Regions from separate parts of the Homo sapiens genome. Here all the other regions are linked to region 3. Evidence: promoter capture Hi-C in 16 types of primary human blood cells and fetal thymus (Javierre and others, 2016). All regions are on one chromosome and are shown on one strand. Each heading gives the region's core, a stretch centred on a gene start or on the middle of the fragment in contact. The rest is flanking DNA. Distances are from core to core; before and after follow the strand shown.

Region 1 (3,427 bases), core at 229-2,728, 410 kb after region 3:
AGGCACACGCCACCACCCCTAGCTATGTTTTCTAATTTTTTAAGAGACTGAATCTTGCTATGTTGCCCAGGCTGGTCTCAAAACTCCTGGCCACTAGCAATCCTCCCACCTCAGCCTCCCTAGTCTCTAGGATTATAGGTGTGAGCCATCACACCTAAAAGAAAAATTAAAAAAAGAAATTGGAGCTTGGGTCCAATACAAGACTTGCATCTCTCATTGTTTCAGTCTGAAAGAACTCCAAGCAGGAAGCTTAAGAGCCTCAGAGGATCACCCTGTTTCCGAGTCAGGGGTCTTGGACTGCAGTGTTGAGGAGGTCTCAGTTGGATCACTGCGGGCCTCAATAATTGAATGCTATCTAGAAAAGTAAATGTACACATTTGGGTGACAGCAAATACCATCAAGACAATTTTTGTGATAACGCAAAGCTTAGCTTGTTCTCATGGCAGGAAGGGAGAACACTACCCTGACAGAGTCATAGCAGTGTCTGGAATAGGGAAGGCAAAGTTGGAATAGTTATGAAGTGTTGGGGTCTGTTTTGTTTTTTTATTTTTTTTGCTTAAGCTCAGTGGCAAGAAAGGAGTTTATTTTAAAGCAGCTCTTCCAATGACGGGACTTGATTAGGACTGGGCAAGGATCATGATACAACAGTATCATAGTTCACTGCAGCCTTGAACTCCTGGGCTCAGGATGAAAGAGTGTGGGGAGGAACAGTTGTCATGGCTCACATTTGTAATGAGCTGTTCCTCCACACACGCCTGACCCCTTCACAGCTCTTTTCCAGCAGGGACAAGCCTTCAGCCATCTAGTGACCAACGCTTCTCAGGGGTGTTGGTCTAGTAATCAAAGGCCTTAAAGACCAGTAGTCTTAGGGCTCGGCGTGGTGGCTCACACCTGTAATCCCCACACTTTGGGAGGCCGAGGTGGGTGGATCACGAGGTCAAGATATCAAGACCATCCTGGCCAACATGATGAAACCCTGTCTCTACTAAAAATACAAAAATTAGCTGGACGTGGTGGTGCGCGCCTGTAGTTCCAGCTACTCAGGAGGCTGAGGCAAGAGAATCGCTTGAACCCGGGAGGCGGAGGTTGCAGTGAGCCCAGATCATGCCACTGCACTCCAGCCTGGCGACAGAGCGAGACTCAGTCTCAAAAAAAAAAAAAAAAAAAAAAAAAAAAAAAAGAGCAGTAGTCTTCATACCTTATTCCAGGATTGGGATTGTTGGGATAGGGCAAAAGTGATGGTTTTGAAGTGCGGGTTTTTTTGTTTGTTTGTTTTTGTTTTTGAGACAGAGTCTCCCTCTGTCATCCAGGCTTACTGCAACCTATGAGGGGAGGGTTTTTAAAGTGTTTTAGAGAATAAAAAGCAGTTTGAGTCTATCTATTGAAAAGTCACAGGCCGGGTTGGGTGGCTCACACCTGTAATGCCAGCAATTTGGGAGGTTGAGGTGGGTGGATCACTTGAGGTCAGGAGTTGGAGACCAGCCAGTTCAAGACCAGCCTGGCCAACATGGCAAAACCCTGTCTCTACTAAAAATACAAAAATTAGCTGGGCGTGGTGGCATGCATCTATAATACCAGCAATTCAGGTGGCTGATGCACAAGCATTGCTTGAACCCGGAAGGCAGAGGTTGCAGTGAGCTGAGATTGTGCCACTGCACTCCAGCCTGAGCAACAGAGCAAGACTCTGTCTCAAAAACAAAAGTCATCGAGTTCATTTAAATGGTTTCTTCTGAAAACTTCTGCAAAAAACAGTGAAGTTATTTACAACTTTTATCATCCTGGGTAAGAGTTTCCTGCAATAGTAAAGCCATGTCAAGGTCAACAGTACCTTAGGTGTAGATGGTTTCTGTTCTTCCTGTGTACTGACTCAAAAATTTATTATGGATGATTATTATGACATTCTCCTCGCCTTCATCAAATCATTCTTATACTAGTTGTCACAATGGCTGTGAGTAGTTGGGCTGGAGGTCACCAAGTGCTCCCAGCCATCAGAAGTAGAGCACCAAGCCTAATGAGATGCCCTCCCCACCTTCCACTCTGGCCTCTTCTTTCATACTTACCATGTGGGGTCCCTTAGAGCCCTGTGTTCCCAGCACATGCTAGATTTCTGACCAGTGCTCTGACTTTTTTATGACACTCCACCTTGCTGTCACCCTAGAAATCCTAAATTTAAATATAAATTAAACATTTGCTTCATGATCAACAGTCATTTCAGCCACTCAGATCATCAGTATATGCGAAGTAGAGCACAATGACAACTGCCTTCCCAACTTTATGTAGTCATGTGCATGGCTCAGGATCGCTACATTCGGAAATCAACTTTTACTCATTACCATGATCATTGGCTCAGAGCACATCCTGCCCATGGTATCTTATGTCTTACTTAATTTCAATACTGAACCAGCCCTCCCAGAATGTTGTCATTAAAACTCTGCCAGGAGCTGGCTATATGGTCTTTTCCTTTGTCAGCTGCCAGAAAAACTACATGTAATCATTACGCTAAGAGATGAAGTCCTACAAAGGCAAGCTTCAGAATCATGAATTCTTTGTGCTTGCACATAGTAGACACTCAGTAATTATTTGTTATATTAATTTTAGAATCTCAGAATGTTGAAGATTTTCCCACACTTGGAGATGAGAGCTTTGGGGTGTTTTTTATCCCCAGCCACTCACTTCATGATTGAGATACCAATATCTCTCCAGGCACTGCCCTCCCTCCCACCATCCCAGTCCCTTCTGTTCCTCGGGGTCCCAGGTGACTCTTAATTCTTGTTAGTGGCTTCTATGTCATTTTGCAAGACTGCTACAATGGGCCCCTCTCCAGAGCAGGAGCCCATGATTTCTCCATCTTGCCCAGTGCTGGTTCTCTGCCCAGCTACTGCCATCCTGAGGGAGAGAAGCCATCCCAACCCACAAGGGCTCAGAGCCTTTTCAGTGCAGCTTAGCTGGTCTGGTTTTAAGTCCCATCACTCCTAAGGCTAGCCTTGAGTGTCTGGCCACTCAGAGATTATAGCAGTTTTGAGCCTTAAAATATATCTTTGCTCCATCTGTTTTTTTTTTTTTTTTTGAGATGGAGTCTCACTCTGTTGCTCAGGCTGGAGTGCAGTGGTGCGATCTGCGCTTGCTGCAACCTCTGCCTCCTGGGTTCAAGCGATCCTCCTGCCTCAGCTGCTTGAGTAGCTGGGACTACAAGCATGCACCACCACTCTTGGCTAATTTTTGTATCTTTAGCAGAGATGGGGTTTCACCTTGTTGGCCAAACTGGTCTCGAACTCCTAAACTCAGGTGATCCACCCATCTTGGCCTCCCAAATTGCTGGGATTACAGGCCTGAGCCACTGCACCTGGCCTCCACCTGCTTCTATATTAATCTTTCTTTCTCTTTCTTTTCTTCCTCTTTTTCTTCTCTTTTAAAAACATTTTTTGTT
Region 2 (3,303 bases), core at 94-2,593, 440 kb before region 3:
CTCTCAAAAAGGAAAAAAAAAAAAAAGCACTTAACTGCCCATAAAGTGAGGACAACTCCCGACAGGCTTCCCCGGAGTCACTCACGTCCACACATCTTTGTCCAGCGCCCGATTAAGGCCTCTAAAAGCCCAGTGGTGCCCCATAAAAATTACACTATTTCATAAAATAAAATATTTTCCACTCGACACGAATTTCCACATACGTCAAAATATTCTATCTTCGTCTCGGTGCACGTGCAGCCTACCTACCGAAGGACCCAGCCGGATCCCAGCACTTCGGCTCCCCACGGCCCCGCCCCGCCCAATTAGGCCCCGCGGTCCCCATGGTGACACACCCCCCCGCGCTCGCAGCTCGTGGCCCACCCCCTCGGCGGCCCCTCACCTAGGCCGAAGGCCCACCGTCCCCAAGGCGTCTCGGCGACCGCGGCTCTTAACTACCTCTAAGTGTCTACCTCGATCGACTACTGGAGCCCCAACTCACTATCTCCGCGCCGGCCGAGGAACCTCCTTTCGCACCCCACACCACCGGACTCTCCCCGTTCGGCCTCCCGCAGGCATTCCTCCTTCCCGCCACCCCGCCCCCCGCCCCGCCCACCAAGTGGGCCGGGCGCCTTCCCCTTCTCGCCCCACCCCCAGTGCTCCCACCTCCCAGGCCCCCTCCCCACCCGGAGCTGCGCGCGTCGCCCCTTCCTTAGCCCAGCACCCCCACCTGGCGGGACGCGTCTCCTCCCTCCAAAAGGCCCGAACTCTCCGCGTCTCCCCTGCAGCCCTCTTCCTGCACAGCCTCTCTCCTCCGACCCTGTTTACAAGCTACACCCCCAAATGCTCCAGACTCGACCCCTGCACTCATTCAAGCCAACTCTGCGGCCCCGCCTCCTCCGAGCCCAGGGCCAGGCCGTGCACCCCCCCAACCCCCTGTGCGAGCCTCCCCTCGCCGGGTTCCAAGCGCCCCGCCGCTATGCCCCCGCCTTCGACCCCACCCCCACCCCGCTACCTGGTGGGGGCAGCAGGCGCTACCGATCTCCGCAGCCCTCCGTTGAGGTTCTTCGCCTTGGGCGGTGACGCGGAGCGCGCCAAGGGCCTGGGCCCAGGCCCAGCCTCGCTCCAGGCCGCATCCCCGCCTGGGGAAGGAGAGGCCCCGGGGGCAGCGGCGGCACGGCCGCCTTCGCGTGAGGCCCTGGCCGAGGCCTTGTTGGCATCACTCAGCGCCGGAGACTTGGGGAAGAAGCTGTACAGGGTGCTCTGTCGCGACATACCGACAGCCGGCAAGGCCCAACCGTTCTGTCGGACGGAGCTCCTAAAAGCACCGCATCTACCGCGCGGCTCCTGCTGGCGGGAAATCTGGGGGGAGGCGCGCTCCGCCGGAGGAACCCGGGCCCCAGTGGCCAATCAACAGGCGCCTCGCCGTGCGCGGGCGGTGCGCGCCAGGCCCCGCCCCCGGGCGCGCGGCGACGTGGGGAAGGGCGGGGCTGGCACACTGGTGGGTAGGGGCGGGGCTGGCACGCTGGCGGTGAGGGGCCCGCCCTGCCGCCGACGCCTGGGCCCCGCGCGGGGAACTGCTGAGCTCCCCTTCCCTCACGCCGCGGGGCTGGCCGGGCCGGAACACTCCGACCCGGGGTTAGTTGCGGCCGCGGGGCTAGCAGGCTCGGAAAGCCCTGCCTCTCTGGAGCGGAAGCGGGAACAGCGGGGGCGCGCACCGCCCGGGCGGGGATAACCGGGGGGACCCGAAAGGCCTCGGAAAGGGGCTCGCGGGGAGAAACGCGTCCAGCGCTCGCGTGACCTCCTGCCGTTAGAGCATTTTCGCAAGGAGACGGAGCGAAAGGGACCAAACTTTAGTCAGCAGTTCACCTTCACGTTGTATTCTCAAGATTTGTATAGAGTAGGCACTTGGTAAACGCTAAATGAATATTGTAATAGCATTCGTTAGCGATGCTGTTGTGTATGGTGAAAGCCTGCAGCTGTACAAAGTTTTCCTTTGCCAGGCACTGATCCCAGCATTTTACATCTGGTAACTAAATCGATCCTCTCAATAACCTGTGACGTAAGTACTTAAGGGCCACAGTCCGTTATCTGAGCCCTTTGACCCAGGTGTGTCTTTACAGGATTTTTCAAATTTTAGAAAGCTAAGAGACTATGAGAGGCCGGGCGCAGTGGCTCACGCCTGTAATCCCAGCACTTTGGGATGCCGAGGCGGGCGGATCACCTGAGGTCAGGCGTTGAAGACCAGCCTAGTCAACATGGTGAAACCCCCGTCTCTACTAAAAATCCAAAAATTAGCCGGGCGTGGTGGCATGCGCCTGTAATCCCAGCTACTTGGGAGGCTGAGGCAGGAGAATAACTTGAACCTGGGAGGCAGCGTTTGCAGTGAGCCAAGGTCGCGCCACTGCACTCCAGCCTGGGCGACAAGAGCGAAACTCCGTCTCAAAAAAAAAAGAAAGAAAGCTAAGAGGCTATGAGAATAAAAAGGTTCTATTCAAATTCAAGAAAGATAGTGGAAGACAGACAATTGTTTGTCCCCTTATCCAGATTGTGAAATCCAGATTGCCGGAAACCAGTCACAATCAACAGCTGTACATTGGTAAAAACCTATGTAAAATTAGTTGTTTGCCTTGTTCTTGGAGACTGTTCTGCCAGAAGGTTCTCCTTTGCTAGGCAAGTAATAAAATCAATCTAAAAAAAAAAGGCGGGGGCCGGGCGCAGTGGCTCACGCCTGTAGTCCCAGCACTCGGCACTTCGGGGGGGGGGCGGAGGTGGGCGGATCACGAGGTCAGGAGATCGAGACCATCCTGGCTAACACAGTGAAACCCCGCCTCTACTAAAAATACAAAAAATTAGCCTGGCGTGGTAGCACACGCCTGTAGTCCCAGCTACTGGGGAGGCTGAGGTAGGAGAATGGTGTGAACCCGGGAGGCGGAGCTTGCAGTGAGCCGAGATCGCGCCTCTGCACTCCAGCCTGGGCGACAGAGCAAGACTCCCTCTCAAAAAAAAAAAAAGAATATTGCCAAAGGTGGTATGTGCTAAGAAAAATACAGTATGCTTCACGAATTTGCATTTCATCCCTGTGCAGGGGTCATTCCAATTTTGGTATATGTGCTACCCAAGCAAGCACAGTGAAACCAACTGTTTGAGATAATATTTGAGAGTTGGTCTCTTTCCCCCACCGGCATACGTAAACACCCCCAGAGAGTCTGGGGGAACATGCTGAAATCAAACATGCAGTAAAACTTACATGCTTATTCATACTAAGTAGAAAGAATACAGAATATAGACTATAAATAGCCTCAGGTCAAAATTTGCTACCAA
Region 3 (3,595 bases), core at 947-3,446:
TGTTTAGCCTAAAGTCTCTGTGGTCTCACTGGCGTCGGAAAAGAAAGCTGGACCTGAATGAGAGTGAGGACACATGGAAACTCACAAGGACAACTGGAACCCAGGTCTACTTCTCCCCACTTTGAACCTACATGCTAGGAGTGCTGATGAAGTTCTGATGGGGCTAGGGGAGCCGCGGTCCAGATACAGCCTCATGCCGGTGAACTAAGCGTCACTGGAACAATGCATGGGAGCTGCCTCAGTGCCTGCTGCCTGCGCTTTACCTTCAGAGCAGTAAAAAAGAAAAAAGGCTGCTGTTTCCTACACCTTCCAAACACTGCAAATTTCTCTGGTAGCCAACGCTAACCCAGAATATACAGGGACAGGAATTCTGGGAAATGTTCCAGCTCAGCTAAGTTGACACAGAAGAAAGCCACTGCACTTCTTCAACACCAAGCACAGTGCCTACGAACAGATCCTATACATAGGGCACTTAATAAATTGTGGGGGTTTTCCATCAAAGGTACCTTTGTTTTGAAGGTCAGAAGGAACTACGGATATCTGCAACAACACGGAGAAACCTCAGAGCATTATGCTAAGTAATAAAAGCCATATATAAAAGAGTACACACTGTATTAGTCCATTGATACAGAATTCTAAAACAAGCAAAGCTAATCTATGGTGACAGAAATCAGAACAAAGTTGCCTGGGACAGGGAGGGAGTTGGGAGTCCCCTCCCTTGGGAAAAGGCATGAGGAAATCCTTAGGAGGTGATGGAAATGTTCTATATTTTGATAGAGGTGTGGGCTACACACGTGTATGCATTTGTCAACACTCTCTGTACCTCTAAGAGCTGTGCGTTTTATTATATGTAAATTATTATTTTTATTTTTATTTGAGACTTGGGTTTCACTATGTTTCCCAGGCTGGACCCAAATTCCTGGCTTCAAACTATTCTCCAGCCTGGCCTCCCAAAGTGATAGGATTACAGGTGTGACTCACTGTGTTCAGCCTATTGTAGGTAAGTATCTCCATTACAAAAACAAACAAAGAAACAAACAAAAACAAAATTAAAGAAAAGTGGTGCCCTCAGAGCTAATTACAGATTAATTAAACAACCATGAAAAACCTTATATCTGCCTAGCTGGCCATTTTTAAAACTGGCCTCATAATGAGTATTTTCGCTCTATAATTGGGAAAGCATCGCCAGGAGTCTCAGAAGAACATGCAATACCAAAATTCCTCTCCATCAGCCACAAGAGAAATCAGAGAGGAACAGAAGCAGGTAGGAGACAAAGGCAAAACTCCTAATAACAAGACAAGGAAAATAAACTCAACACTGAACTACAGAACTAGAATTTTTATTCCTTTTTCCTTGTTTTCAAAAATTTAAATTAACAGTCTGTTCAACAGAGATTTGGTTTCTAAACTGCATCTAGCTCTCACTGTACCCATGTGTGTGACAGAAAGAGAGAGAAAGAGTAACAAACGTTCCAAATAATGGAAATCATCATAAATGGAAGCTAGGGGAAGCAGTTTCACTGTACCCAGAGGAAATGGATTCCACAGCCATGCAAGGACCTGAATCTCTGTCCGGCTTTCACCTTGTCTTCTTGACTGGCCTCGTTGTCATGACATTTGCAATTTTTTTAAACAACATCAAAGAACAAAAACTATCTCCCTTCTCACCATTGGTCGTTACCTGATACCCATTTATCAGGGAGCATACTTTTCTGTAATGAATTTATTTCAGCATAGGGACAGCAACTTAAGGCATAAATGCTAAGATGGAGGCAGAAAGGAAAGAGGTTCGCCCAGAGATCCAAAGGAGAAGTGGGAGGGGAGACTCTGAAAGGCAGGGAAGAACCCCGAAAGGAGGGGCTGGGGGCTCGAGCTGGTTGTGAAAGCCTTTCCCCTTTACGCTTTGCTCTCAGTGTGGCGGGCAGACTGGATGACCAGGTGCCTTAGAGGTTCTCACAGGCACCTTTGCTTACTTAGTCCTTTTACAGCTCGGATTAATGTTTAACTTCCTTTGGGAAAGATCAAAAAACAAAGGCAGAAACTCACAGCCGGGTAGCCGTGGCATCCTCACCCCAGGGCTAGACTCTACAGCTCTTGCTCTTTGTCCCCAAGTCTCCTCCCCTCTCCTTTGTCTCCAGGCCCCAGGGGAAGGCTAGAGAATGATCACGTGGCCGGGATGGGGCTGTGTTCCTGGCAGTCCCCTGGGCTTCCTGCAGGGACCTGGATTCTTAGTATTTCAGGCTGCTGTCCCTTTTTTTTTTTCATTTCCTTTTTGTTTTTGTTGTTGATGTGACCGCGTGTCCACAACCCTGGGATTCCCTCGCCCTCAGATTCCAGAATCCAATTTCTTGGATTTCAGTGTTTTTAAGGTCAGTGGAAACTTTTTTAAAAAGCAACATTAAGCTAATATATTCTTACTGCAGAAAAGGAGCTTTGTTCTATTTATCTCTAAAACTGATGCTCACTAGTAGTTCTCAGATTTGGAAAGGTATTTGTACTATTTATTTATAGGAGCATTTATTTATAGGAAATACTGGCTGGGCGTGGTGGCTCATACCTATAATCCCAGCACTTTGGGAGGCCAATGTGGGCGGATCAGTTTGAGACCAGCCTGGCCAACATGGCAAAACCCCGTCTCTACTAAAAATACAAAAATTAGCTGGGCGTGGTGGTGAGTGCCTGTAATCCCAGCTACTCCGGAGGCTGAGGCTGGAGAATCGCCTGAACCTGGGAGGCGGAGGTTGCAGTGGGCCGAGATCGCGCCATTGCACTCCAGCCTGGGCGACAAAAACGAAACTCCATCTCAAAAAAAAAAAAAGGAAATCCACTAGATCGAGGTGCTTGGAAAAACAACCCATCACTAAGGATCCTTCCCTTCCTCTTCTCCATTAATACCACCTTTGTAAAGATTCCCTCCGGTACCACCCCAAAGAACTGAAGTGCAGATAATTATTTCCCAGAATGTTGTTTTTACGCTGGTGAAATTCAACGGCAAACATTTTACTAACACTCTCCTCCTTTTCCTACCTGAGGTATTAAAACTTGGAGTCAGCCTGGGTAATATTTTATAGGAAAATGCTCTTCATCACTGTACACCTGTGCCTACCATGGTACCTGGGGCATCTAGTAGGTGCCAGATAAATATATATGTACATTTTATATATATATATATATATATGTATGTATGTATATATAGTTTTTTTTTTTTTTTTTTCCCGAGACAGAGTCTTGCTCTGTCACCCAGGCTGGCATGCAGTGGCGTGATCTTGGCTCACTGCAACCTCCGCCTCCTGGTTCAAGCAATTCTCCTGCCTCAGCCTCCCAAGTAGCTGGGATTACAGGCACGCACCACCATGCCCAGCTAATTTTTGTGCTGTTAGTAGAGACGAGGTTTCACCATGATGGCCAGGCTGGTTTCAAACTCCTGACCTCAGGTGATTCGTCCACCTCAGCCTCCAAAAGTGCTGGGATTACAGGCACGAGCACTGCACCCTGCCACAGACAAATATTTACTGAGGGAATTAATGAGAAGAATCTGGGAGAAAAGAAGAAAGCAGAGATTTCTAAAATGGAAGAATTTCCCCTAGAATTATCC
Region 4 (3,504 bases), core at 518-3,017, 350 kb after region 3:
ACCAACAGCCATACCTGTCCTGGACCTCACTTTTGTCATCTGTAAGATGGGAACATACAGTATTAGACTGAACTATATGAAACTGTTGTTTTTGCAGGTCATAAACAATTGAAAATTGGCAATTTCATATGACTCAACATAATGCGCACCTAATCAGCTTGGAACCTCCCTAGCTGAGAAAGGACCTAACAGACGACCCCGTTTCCAGCCTTTCACCACCTACCTGTAAATTGCACTGGAAGCCTCAGTACACAAAGGCCACAAAATAACCGGTGTTTAGGCCGGGCACAGTGGCTCATGCCTGTAATCCCAGCACTTTGGGAGGCTGAGGCAGGTGGATCACCTGAGGTCAAGAGTTCATGACTGGCCTGGTCAACATGGTGAAACCCCGTCTCTACTAAAAATACAAAAATCAGCCAGGTGTGGTGGCGCGCACCTGTAATCCAAGCCACTCGGGAAGCTGAGACAGAAGAATCGCTTTAACCTGGGAGACAGAGGTTGCAGTGAGCCAGGATCGCACCACTGCACTCCAGTCTGAACGATAAAGGGAGACTCTGTCTCAAAAAACAACAACAACAACAACAACAACAACCACCACAAAAAAAACTCTGTGTTTCCAGACAGATGATTCCAGGGCAGTCTCACTGGAGGGTGAACGTGGTGAAATGGCGGAGAGGGGATGGGAATACTGGTCTGCATCTGGGGTTCCATATTTCAAAACTAGGATTCAGTCTGTGGTCAGAGTAAGGGCCCATTTTAAAAAGTAAAAAGCACACTGTTCTCCCATGAAAATCAGATGTGGCACATGGTCCCTGTATCTCCACAGCTGCTAACCAGCGAGATGGCCCCTCCCCTGGGCAACCACTTACCCACCTCACAGGCAAACATTTTAGGGCAACACCCTGGCCAGCTGGCACTCCCATCCAAATATCCACACCCTACACAGAAACTCTCAGATCCAACATGGACCAGCCCCAGCTGAGGCAGGATGCAATCCCTCTGCCCCACAGGCCAGCGCCTGCTCCTATTTGCTGGGAGGCCTGAGGCACCAGAGGCAATCTGATTACCAACGCTATCTAAGCAAGCCCTGGCATCGCATGGTCCCAGGCATCCAAGGGAACATTCACTTCTGGCTGTTCAGGGATCCAGCTCACGGGATCTTGGTTTCTTAACCTCCATATCCATACACTGCTCTCAGATGCGTCGTTTTTTTAAAAACCTATTTCTCAACCTGGTGGTTCCCAGCTCACCAGCTCTGATGGGCCCCTTGGTCGGAGGACTTGGACCTGACCATGTAGATGACTCCTGTGTGCTTGGCTTCTGATGCTCCTGCCCCACTCTTCCTGTGCCCCCTTTGGACCAGTCCAGTCCATCCTTCATCTTACCACCTCCTCAACCACACAGCCACAGTGCACTCTCCTTTGCTGAGCACCCAAAGTGCTTGGCCCTGGGCAAACATTCCTTGGTACCATGGCCACCATATGTGTGCAAGCACGAGTGTGTGCGTGCATCCACGTGCTTGTGTTTGCCTCATCTTCCTGCCCAGGACATGAGCAATGGGTCCTGTAGAAAAGTCTAAACAGCCAACTTCATGTGTGCTTTGTCTAGCACGATTTGTCTTCTCCTCTGTGTTCTTTTCCCATAGCATTCACGCGTGGACATCCTGCATATTGTAGTTTTTGATTAATTTACTGCCTGCTTCCCTTTACTAGAATGTAAGCTCCACGAGGGAAAGGACTTTTCTCCATTTTGTTTGCTGCGGCATCTCTGGTGTCTAGAGCAGGGTCTGGCACAAAGTAGATGCTCAATAAATAGCTGTTGCGTGAATAAATGAACTCCTTCCATAGGCACACTTACCTTTGTGAGTATTGTTATATTACAGGGGAGAAAACGGAGGCTCAGAGAAAATAAGTGATGTGCCCCAGCCCTCAACTAACACGCAGAACTGGAACCTGATTCCATGCTTTCTGACTCCAAAGTACACATTCCTTCCATTCCCTACCTGCCATGTTCTCAAATCTGTCACAGCACCCAACACACAGCTATGTAACATTTTACTGTGACCTTGTTGATGATCATCTTTTTAATCCCAAAAGAGGTGGGTGGGGACTTAGGCACTCAGTCTCTACTTATTTGGGGGCAGAACGCAGGCCTCCAAATGAAGCCTTCGACAGCCAATTCCAAACCTAATGAGCAAGACTTGCTGTATGGGGGCCCAGGGCCAAGAAGCATCTACTTTAGGAGTATCCCTGGGAGACAGAGTTTGGCTAGGTCACGGGTGGCCTGTACCTGGGCCCCACAGCCCTTCCCCACAGGGTCAGAGGGCCAGAGGCCCCTGAAGGACATCCTGGAGCTTACCATGGATTCGCTGATGAGGAGGAGCAGGAGGGCTTCCTCGATGTTGTCCTTGGGGCAGTAGAGGCTGAAAGACACCAATGACAGGCCTGGCTAGAGCACACACCTCACCAGACAGCACCACTGACCCACCATGCCAGCCTTCTGCCCCAGAGTCAGCACCAGCTCGGTAAGGTGACCTCTTCCTGCATAATTCATGGGCACCGGATACCATATGCCCCAGAGTTATGGATCTGAAAGGCTGCGGTGGGTGGTGGCTGCTGGGCTGGAATAGTACGGATTCTCCCAGGGAGGAAACATTCCTCCCAGCACCAGCACTGCAGGGAATGGCTGGGGCAAGAAGCAGGGAGAAGCCAGAACTACGCTCTGCTGGTTGGCTACAGACCGCACCTTCGATGAATGGCACAAGCGAGAGAGAGGTGTATCAGACAAGACTACTGGGAAGACAGGTAACTTCTAAATGATTTCTTTGGTCTCCGAGTGCCTTATAGGATTATCTCCACAACCTGGACCCCAACACCTGCCTTCTCTAGTTCATCTGGCTCCTGCTGAGACTGAGGAGGCTGGCTGGCAGTGTGCTGAGTGGAGACTGGAGGAGAGCATGGGGCAAAGAGGAAGCCACCAGTGGGGACAGAACCCTGCGTGAGATGTGAGACTGGCAAGGTGCAGCAGGGCAGGCAGAACTTACTTGTCTCCTTCATAGAGGTGAGGTTTCCGCAGGGCCTGAGTGGCGAAAGAACTCTCCTCCTTGCCCATGAACTCAGGCAGAGGGTGGGACAGGGGGCTCCAGTAGCACTCCTCACTCAGGGAGTGCAGCAGGACCCCCGCCAGGTGCTTGGCCGCCATCTGGCAGAGAGGGAAGCACTCGGACCCAGGCACAGTTGTCAGCTCTACCCCAGCATGACCTAGAACGCCCTCTGCCCATCCCAGCTAAATCTGCCCCGCTTGCAATGTGCGGCCCTTTGGGTAAACTCCCCAACCCCACTCCCAAGGAGCCCCCTTGCTCCTTCAGTCCCTCCAACACTGGCGCTCCCACCCCTCTGCTGGCCTCAGACGGCTCCTACCTCATCTTTTCTCTTCTCTCCTCTCCTAGACAAGAGGAGCATTTCCTCCCTCTCCTGACCCCTTGGAGCCCAGCCCCACTCTGAG
Region 5 (3,800 bases), core at 110-2,609, 370 kb after region 3:
TTGTGAGTCGCGGAAAAAACCCCACATTTGGTCACAGAAATGACCTGTGTTGTATTGAGTATAAAGTAGGGCCAGGCACAGTGGCTCACGCCTGTAATCCCAGCACTTTAGAAGGCTGAAGCGGGAGGATCACTTGAGTCCAAGAGTTTGAGACCAGCCTGGGCAACAAAATGCAACTCCCTCTCTACAAAAAATTAGCCAGGTGTGATGGTGCATGCCTGTTGTCCCAGCTACTCAGGAGGCTGAGGTGGGAGGATCACCTGAGCCCAGAACGCAGGAGGTACAGTGAGCCATGATCACACCATTGCACTCCAGCCTGGATGTCAGAGTAAGATCTGTCTTTAAAAAAAAAAAAAAAAAAAAAGAGAGAGAGTATAGGGTAGAAGAAAACAGTAAGTTTGCTTTATCCTACTAAACAAGTACCATATGCAACAATCATGTATTCAAAAGCATGTAATGAAAAGAATGCATAAAGTGAAATGTAACAAAATAAATCACACTAAAAATGGCACACAGGCCTCAGAGAACTCCAGGCAGTCAGTGACAAGAAAGCTGTGTGACCCTGACCTTGGTTTCCTTGTGTGTGAGGAGGTGGTCACACCTACTGGGCCTGACCCATGGCCATGGAAGGCTGAGTGAGGCAGGGCGTGACTACGCACGGGGGACGGCTGCGCTTGGCACCTATGGGTCTGCTCCTCTCGTCAGTGATGTCCTCCAGCCCCAGCCCACTGTGTCTGTCTAAGGTTGTAATGACGCAGAGGAAGGGGCCCAAAGCCTCTGCTGCAGAGACAGGCAGGAAACCTCAGCTCCCGCCTGGGAGTCCCCAGACTGGTGGAGATGTTGCCAGCAGACCGGACCAGTTGCGGAATAGCCATGAAGCGACACTTGCTGCCAATACGCACTCCTCATCTTGAATCTTCTCCTTCCCCTGCCACCACCCAACACACCCCATGAAACAACCACTCCCGGCCTAACACCAGCCACCCCCTCGACTATTCAACAAGGCAGGTCTTGCTTCACCCAGGAGCAAAAGCCTACGGAAGGCATTCCAGGCACTATGGTTCTTAGGTCTCAGATAGGCCAGTATTCCAGGGACCTCAAGACAACCCACAGGAAAACAAGCACTTCTGCTGCTTCGTCAGCAGGGACAGCCACAGCCCCAGCGTGACGCCAGAACTTCACTTCTACCATACTTTCCCTCGTCCTTCACCACTCCTTAAAAGCCGGAATGAACAGGAATCTGCCTTCCCATTGGGTTTTTGGGGAACGTGAGGCTCAGAGGAACCAAATAACTTCATTCACACTGCAGACAACAGTAGACAAAACCAGACCCACTGGCCAGCTCACTGTCCTTTGCTTTTTCAACATCACCTCCCAGATGCCCTCCACCCTCCCCTCTTGAAATGCCCACTCCTGTTTCTCTTCTTGGCAGTCTCCCCCAAGCACACACAGGCTTTATTGCTTCTGTGGCTTCCTGAAGCGTGGCCCTTCCCACTAAGAACGTCTCTGCACACTCCTGTCTGACAAGATGTGACACAAGCCAGTTCCCACCAATCCTCTTGGAAGAGCACGTATGCACAGGCCAGAGAAGAGGGAGAGCAGCCTTAAGGCCACGTCAAAAGCCTCAGCCCAGGGGAATCGTTCTCCCACTCACTCAACTACCAGTGACCTACCCCTTCTTCAGGTTTTTCACATAGGCGCTCTGGAGGGCAGCTTCCAGGAAGTAGGTGAGCTCATAGTCAAGCGGGTGACAGCCTTTCAGATGCCTCGACGTGCTGTTATTTGTGGTCTGGGAAGGGAAACAGAGAGAGAGCCATTGTCTCAAAGTTCTGAGGCAGAGGGTCACTCAGCAAGAGGAGGTGGCCTCATCACCATCCCAGTCCCAGTTGTTCAGGGGCACATTGTTGCATTCTCAGACCAGGCTTGATCTAACTCGCTTTAACTCAAAATATGTCTAAAGCATTCTCTCCCCATCCAACCGTTAGATGCCCACAAGCCCTCTGTCTTTTTTTTTTTTTAAGAAACAGGGTCTTACTATGTTGCCCAGGCTGATCTCAAACTCCTGGGCTTAAGCAATCCTCCCACCTCAGCCTCCCAAAGTGGTGGGATTACAGGCATGAACCACTGCACTAAGCCCCTAACATTCATTCAACAATCACAGAGCTTTAAATTCATTAGCTCATTTAGTCCTTAGAGCAGCTCTATTAGGTAGGAACTGTCATCATTTCTATTTCACCGGTGAGAACAGAGAGGGTCTCTTCCTGCCCCAAGGCCACTAACGTGGCAGGTGGTGGCGGAGCCAGGCAGTCAGGTTCCCCTCTCCACTCTTACCCTCTACTGCAGGAGGACTTCTCTGTCTGTCCAGAACCATGCTGAGCACTCACTCTTCAACCAGACAGCACTCACTGCCTGAGCACATGGTAGAGAGACCGCTTCACGCAGCACTGCTTCCCTGTTCTGTGTATGCAAACCTCAGCTCCCACCAGACTTCACTCCCACAGGACAGGAGCTGTGTCTCCTGAGTCTCACTACTGTCCATGCCCCACCTCCAGTTAAGGAAAGAGAAGGGGAAATGAAACTCTTAGAAAATTGCCACCCAAGCCCAAATCTTACTTATGCCTCACAACGGTCCTACAGGGCTGGTTTTGTTTGCATTTTATAGATGAGGAAACTGAGGCTCAGAAAATGTCTAAGGTCAAAAGTGTCAATTACAGATGTGGTGGCTCACGTTTATAATCCTAGCACTTTGGGAGGCCGAGGCAAGAGAATCGCTTGAGGCCAGGAGTTCCAGACCAGCCTGGGCAAAAGAGTGAGGCTCTGTCCCAATCAATCCATCAATAATAATTTAATGCCTAAGATCACAAAGCTGGTGTCAGTCCGGACCTCAAACTCAAGCCTAGCCAGGTATGGATTCCAAGCTATTTCTACTATGTATCAGTTAATTCATTCCACAAACATCTAAGTGCCTGCTATATGCCAGGCACCGTACTGTCCCTCTCAAACAAGCATGGAACGTCAGAACATCCAGAGAATTGAGAGCCCTCTGGTTCCAGGAAAAGCTGAGGAACAATTACCTCATTAACTGAGCTGTTGCTTAAAAGCCTCAGCTCTAACAGGGTCCTCCTGCCCAACCAGACAGGCTTGCCTTCTGTATACCATTTCCTTTGTCTAATCTGAGGGGAAAAAAAATCAATGAGGCATCCACCTCCTCTTTCAGAATCCAGAGGAGATTTAAGAGAAGGTCTTAGTTCCTCAGAGGTCAGGACTGGGTCTCAGGAGGGACACACAGTATTTCTGAGGATGCACAAGATTCTGTGGCCTGCCCTCCCTCAACTTAGATAACAACTATAGGGTCCCATTTGTCTGCCCACTGCTACCAGGCACTGATTCCAGCCCTGGACATCATCATCAGACCTTTGACAGGGACAGTACAGTGCCTGGCATTATAGCTCATCGCCTTAATCCCCTTTTGAAAGTCCAAAGCCTAGGCTTCCAGCTGAGCAGCAGACTTTATCTTTTCCATGAAAGTTTCCTCCCAACCACATGCAATGCAAATATGAAAAGCTCCTAAAACACTACTACTGTCTAGCAGTGACCCATTCCCCCTTGGTGGAGGTCAACTCAACCATGCTGAGCCTTTAAGTGGCCTCTGCCAAAGAATGGGCACTCAAGTCCTATATTTGCTGAGCCCATCGGTCATTTCTCCTTTCCTCCTAAAGTCCAATCAAGCAGACATCTTCTAGAGCAGTGGCTGTCAGCAGGGGGGTGACTTTGCCCTCAGGGGACAGTTGCCAGTAACT
Region 6 (3,453 bases), core at 506-3,005, 390 kb after region 3:
CCCTCCTCCTCCAGAAAGCCTTCTTTGATGCTCAAGCACATGCCGACAGCTCCCCGCTCTCACCCATGGTCTGCAGCCTACATTGTGGTTCTCAATAAAATTCTCCTATGAGTCCCTAATTGTTTCATGTGTGTGCGTTTTATGCCCCCAGCAAGACTCCAGAGACCTTGCAGACTAGGCCCTGTCTTCCCTCTCCTGAATCCCCCCAAAGACTGCAGCCCCAGGGGGCACTCAGAAGCTCAGGCATTTATTCTAAACACAAGTGGGGAGTCAGAGATGGAGTTAAGTTTTGTGGAGCCCCAGGCTTCTCATTTTGGGAGTCCTCTTGTGTACATGTATATGCAAATCATAATTAGGTGAAAGGCCTTAGAAACAGCCTGTGAGGACCCTAAAGCTTATGCCTCCCCCTACAGTGGCAGAGGGACAGATTGAGGAGGAGAGGGCCTGCTGCGTCACCATCCTCTTCCTATCAGAAATGGGTCAAAGTGCAGAATCACGGAGGCCAAGAGTGGCTGAATTTAAACGTGTTTTCTTTCCCCTCCTTTTTCAAAAGTTGCTTACATCTCAATCTCCATCCCACAGAGGAACTCTCAGGGCCTCCCTTAGGGCCTGCAGTGGTCTTGTCAGCCATGATCACCCCTACTGTGGCTTGGGATCCTGTGCTGTTGCCTGAGGGAGGCTGTGCTGGCCCTGGGCTGTGCCACCCTGGCACGTGAGTTCTGACCTTGGACATGGCCCCAGTTCTCCTTGTAACCTCCCGCCTCTGCAGGCCATTTGCTCTGGCCCCCTGCCTCTGATCCTGTCCTCAGCTGGCTCACAATGCCTATGGGCCAGGCCCTGGGCACTGCTCCCGCCACACAGGCACCAATCTGTCCATAAAACTCCCCGAAGATGCAGCTCTCATCCCACACCTGGCATTTGTCACTGGCAGGAAGGTGCTACCCCTGTCTCCCTGTAGGGAGGTAAGAGTCTGGGGTCCCTGTGACCCCAGGGCAAGCCTCCAGCACTCCTTACCATCTACTGCCCTCTCAGAAGCCAAGAGAAATGAAGCGTGGCACAGACAGGCTCTGGGGAAGCCAAATTCACCTTCCCAACTGGTCCTTCTGGCCTTTGTAAATCCACATTCCTCTTTTGCCTGTGCTTCCTCAGGTCCCCTTCCCCCTGGCCTAACCAGGTCCTCTTCTATCCTTTGGGGCCTTGCTCAGGCCCACCTTCTCCTGAAAGCCTCCTTGACTACCAGGGAGCTCCCTTCAGCTGAACTCCTCCAATGCCTCTACCAATGGGCCCATTCAGCCTCTGCACGCCTGACCTGCTCTCTCTATTAATTAACTCTCCAAAGCTGAATCTTTTGAGGGGATTTGCTAGTCTTCCCAGATAGGCCATCCACTCCCTGGGCCAGGGCCACAGATGACACATCCCAGAGGTATGTGGCCCACAGTCCTTCCAAGCTGGGCAGTGACTCTGCGTTCCCTGCACTGGTCTCAAGCCACGGGCTCATTTCCTCCCTGCTCGGGCTGCGTCTTCCTCGTGGGTGAGGGAGAGATAATAACACCTACTCCTCACTGCCTATCACAGCGATGCTGAAGGCATTAATAGGGCAAAGTCCAGAAAAGAGCTTTGAACTTTTCTTTGGAAAAGAGCAAGATAAATACAGGGTATGCGTATTTATCATTATCCTGCACATGGAGACAAGGGCAGTGAGGCAGAGAAGGACATTTCAGGCATGCTGATGGGGTGTGGCTAGTGGCGGTTCCTGGAGGACCAGTGGCAGTTTACAACAGAGCTTCCACCAAGCTGGGGAAAAATTAGACAATGCAGGGCATGTTTTATAAAGCCACATTTACACTATTTAAAAAAATGCTCGGCCGGGTACGGTGGCTCACGCCTGTAATCCCAGCACTTTGGGAGGTCGAGGCAGGCAGATCACCTAAGATCAGGAATTTGAGACCAGCCTGGACAACATGGTAAAACCCGTCTCTACTAAAAATACAAAAATTATCCGGGCGTGGTGGTGGGCGCCTGTAATCCTAGCTACTTGGGAGGCTGAGGCAGAAGAATCGCTTGAACCCGGGAGGCGGAGGTTGCAGTGAGCCAAGATCGTGCCACTGTACTCCAGCCTGGGTGACAGAGCGAGACTCCGTTGTCTCAAAAAAAAAAAAAAAAAAAAGGCTCTTAGTTCTGAAAGGATATCTACCTTGCCCTTTCAATGCTAAACTGTTTTTCTGTTATAGCACAGTAAGAGCAGAAGATGGTATCATTTTGCTGCTATTTTTTGCTTCTTAATGTCCTTACTTGGCAACATTAAGAGTCCACTGCACTCTGTGGGGCCCATGCATTTGAATGTGAAATATTCTTGGTCTATCAGTACAACAGTCAGGGAACGGAACCCCTTGCCCAGTGGGAGGGTGCCACGGGGGAGGTCGCTTTACCAGAGGAACAATCCCCTCTACTGTGTGGATCAGCGCATCACCTACTCCTTTTGTGCCTCACTGTCCCTGTCAATAAAAGGGGAAAAAGGACTTCATGGAGATATCCAGGTATGAGGAAAGAACGGATGAGGAAATACTTCACAGACTAACGTGGGAACTATAAAAGTGGGGGTGTGATCACCATCTTTCACATGAATCCAACTTTCCCAGTCATTATTTTATTTCCACCCCAGTACTCTGGGAGGCAGTACCAAGAAATGAGAGACAGCATTAGAGCATGGGCTGTAGACACTAAAGGCCTGGGTTGTGATCACCTTTCTTGGGTCTCAAGAGATGGAGCTTGGCAGGGCACAGTGGCTCACACCTGTAATCCCAGCACTTTGGGAGACCAAGGCAAGAGGATCGCTTGAAACCCAGAATCTGAGACCAGCCTGAGAAACACAGTAAGAACTGTGTCTCTACAAAAAATTGAAAAAAAAAAAAAAGAAAGAAAGAAAGAAAAAGAAATGGGGCTAATAGTAAATACCGTTGCAGAAGGTTCCTTGGAGGCCTGCATGCGATGGTGCAAAGCCTCAACCTAGTAGCAGAACAGAGTTTAGGACAAGTGGCTTGTTTTCACTGATCTCCACACAACTGAGCTGGACGGGGTCTTAGAGAGATAACCAAGAGGAAAGGGTTTCAAGCTTTCCCAAGGAGGGGCCTCAGGACCCACCTCTCCCAGCTCTCCTTCTCATCCAGCAGAGCTACTTGGATGCACAGGAATCCACCTGAGACTGCATCAGCTGCCAAGAAAGGTCACGCCAACTGTGACCTGATCTTTGCGGGTGAGATAGAAAATACTACAAATGATGGCCGGGCATGGTGGCTCACGCCTGTAATCCTAGCACTTTGGGAGGCACAGGTGACAGGACTGCTTGATCCCAGGAGTTTAAGACCAGCCTGAGCAATATGACAAGACTTTGTCTCTACAAAAAAATTTAAAAATTAGCTGGGTGTGGTGGTGCATGCCTATAGTCCCAGCTAC

What was found. The method cuts DNA at HindIII sites, captures the fragments that hold promoters and counts their contacts. A CHiCAGO score of 5 or more calls a contact.
Region 1: a contact is called between a fragment that was not itself captured here and the fragment with the promoter of EPCAM-DT in region 3, in 1 of 17 cell types (neutrophils). The highest score is 5.4, in neutrophils.
Region 2: a contact is called between the fragment with the promoter of MSH6 here and the fragment with the promoter of EPCAM-DT in region 3, in 9 of 17 cell types (M0 macrophages, naive B cells, naive CD8 T cells and 6 more). The highest score is 12.3, in M0 macrophages.
Region 4: a contact is called between a fragment that was not itself captured here and the fragment with the promoter of EPCAM-DT in region 3, in 1 of 17 cell types (neutrophils). The highest score is 6.1, in neutrophils.
Region 5: a contact is called between a fragment that was not itself captured here and the fragment with the promoter of EPCAM-DT in region 3, in 1 of 17 cell types (neutrophils). The highest score is 5.7, in neutrophils.
Region 6: a fragment that was not itself captured here is called in contact with the fragment with the promoter of EPCAM-DT in region 3 in 1 of 17 cell types (neutrophils); the score reaches 5.1 in neutrophils.

What each region holds. Positions count from the first base shown.
Region 1 is chr2:46,932,541-46,935,967 of GRCh38, reverse strand. It overlaps a transcript of MCFD2 not described here and a transcript of TTC7A not described here. Among named protein-coding and RNA genes, the nearest start is that of TTC7A, 7.0 kb to the left of the region's middle. The HindIII fragment of the contact is 2,102 bases long and covers 428-2,529 here.
Region 2 is chr2:47,781,185-47,784,487 of GRCh38, reverse strand. MSH6 (mutS homolog 6) reads right to left here and starts at 1,343. Exons shown (of 10, transcript NM_000179.3): 1 at 995-1,343. The coding sequence starts at 1,254. RefSeq lists silencers at 561-650, 851-1,010, 1,291-1,770, 2,921-3,102 and an enhancer at 1,901-1,970. The HindIII fragment of the contact is 5,497 bases long and covers 1-3,303 here.
Region 3 is chr2:47,343,675-47,347,269 of GRCh38, reverse strand. It overlaps EPCAM-DT (EPCAM divergent transcript), which reads left to right and starts at 2,196. Exons shown (of 5, transcript NR_110208.1): 1 at 2,196-2,369. The HindIII fragment of the contact is 13,271 bases long and covers 1-3,595 here.
Region 4 is chr2:46,994,054-46,997,557 of GRCh38, reverse strand. It overlaps TTC7A (tetratricopeptide repeat domain 7A), which reads right to left. Exons shown (of 20, transcript NM_020458.4): 7 at 3,044-3,201; 8 at 2,359-2,422. Among named protein-coding and RNA genes, the nearest start is that of TTC7A, 55 kb to the right of the region's middle. The HindIII fragment of the contact is 5,728 bases long and covers 1-3,504 here.
Region 5 is chr2:46,976,781-46,980,580 of GRCh38, reverse strand. TTC7A (tetratricopeptide repeat domain 7A) reads right to left here. Exons shown (of 20, transcript NM_020458.4): 5 at 1,674-1,789. Among named protein-coding and RNA genes, the nearest start is that of TTC7A, 37 kb to the right of the region's middle. The HindIII fragment of the contact is 9,377 bases long and covers 1-3,800 here.
Region 6 is chr2:46,953,281-46,956,733 of GRCh38, reverse strand. All of the region lies in intron 2 of TTC7A (tetratricopeptide repeat domain 7A), which reads right to left. Among named protein-coding and RNA genes, the nearest start is that of TTC7A, 14 kb to the right of the region's middle. RefSeq lists a silencer at 1,310-1,604. The HindIII fragment of the contact is 2,718 bases long and covers 397-3,114 here.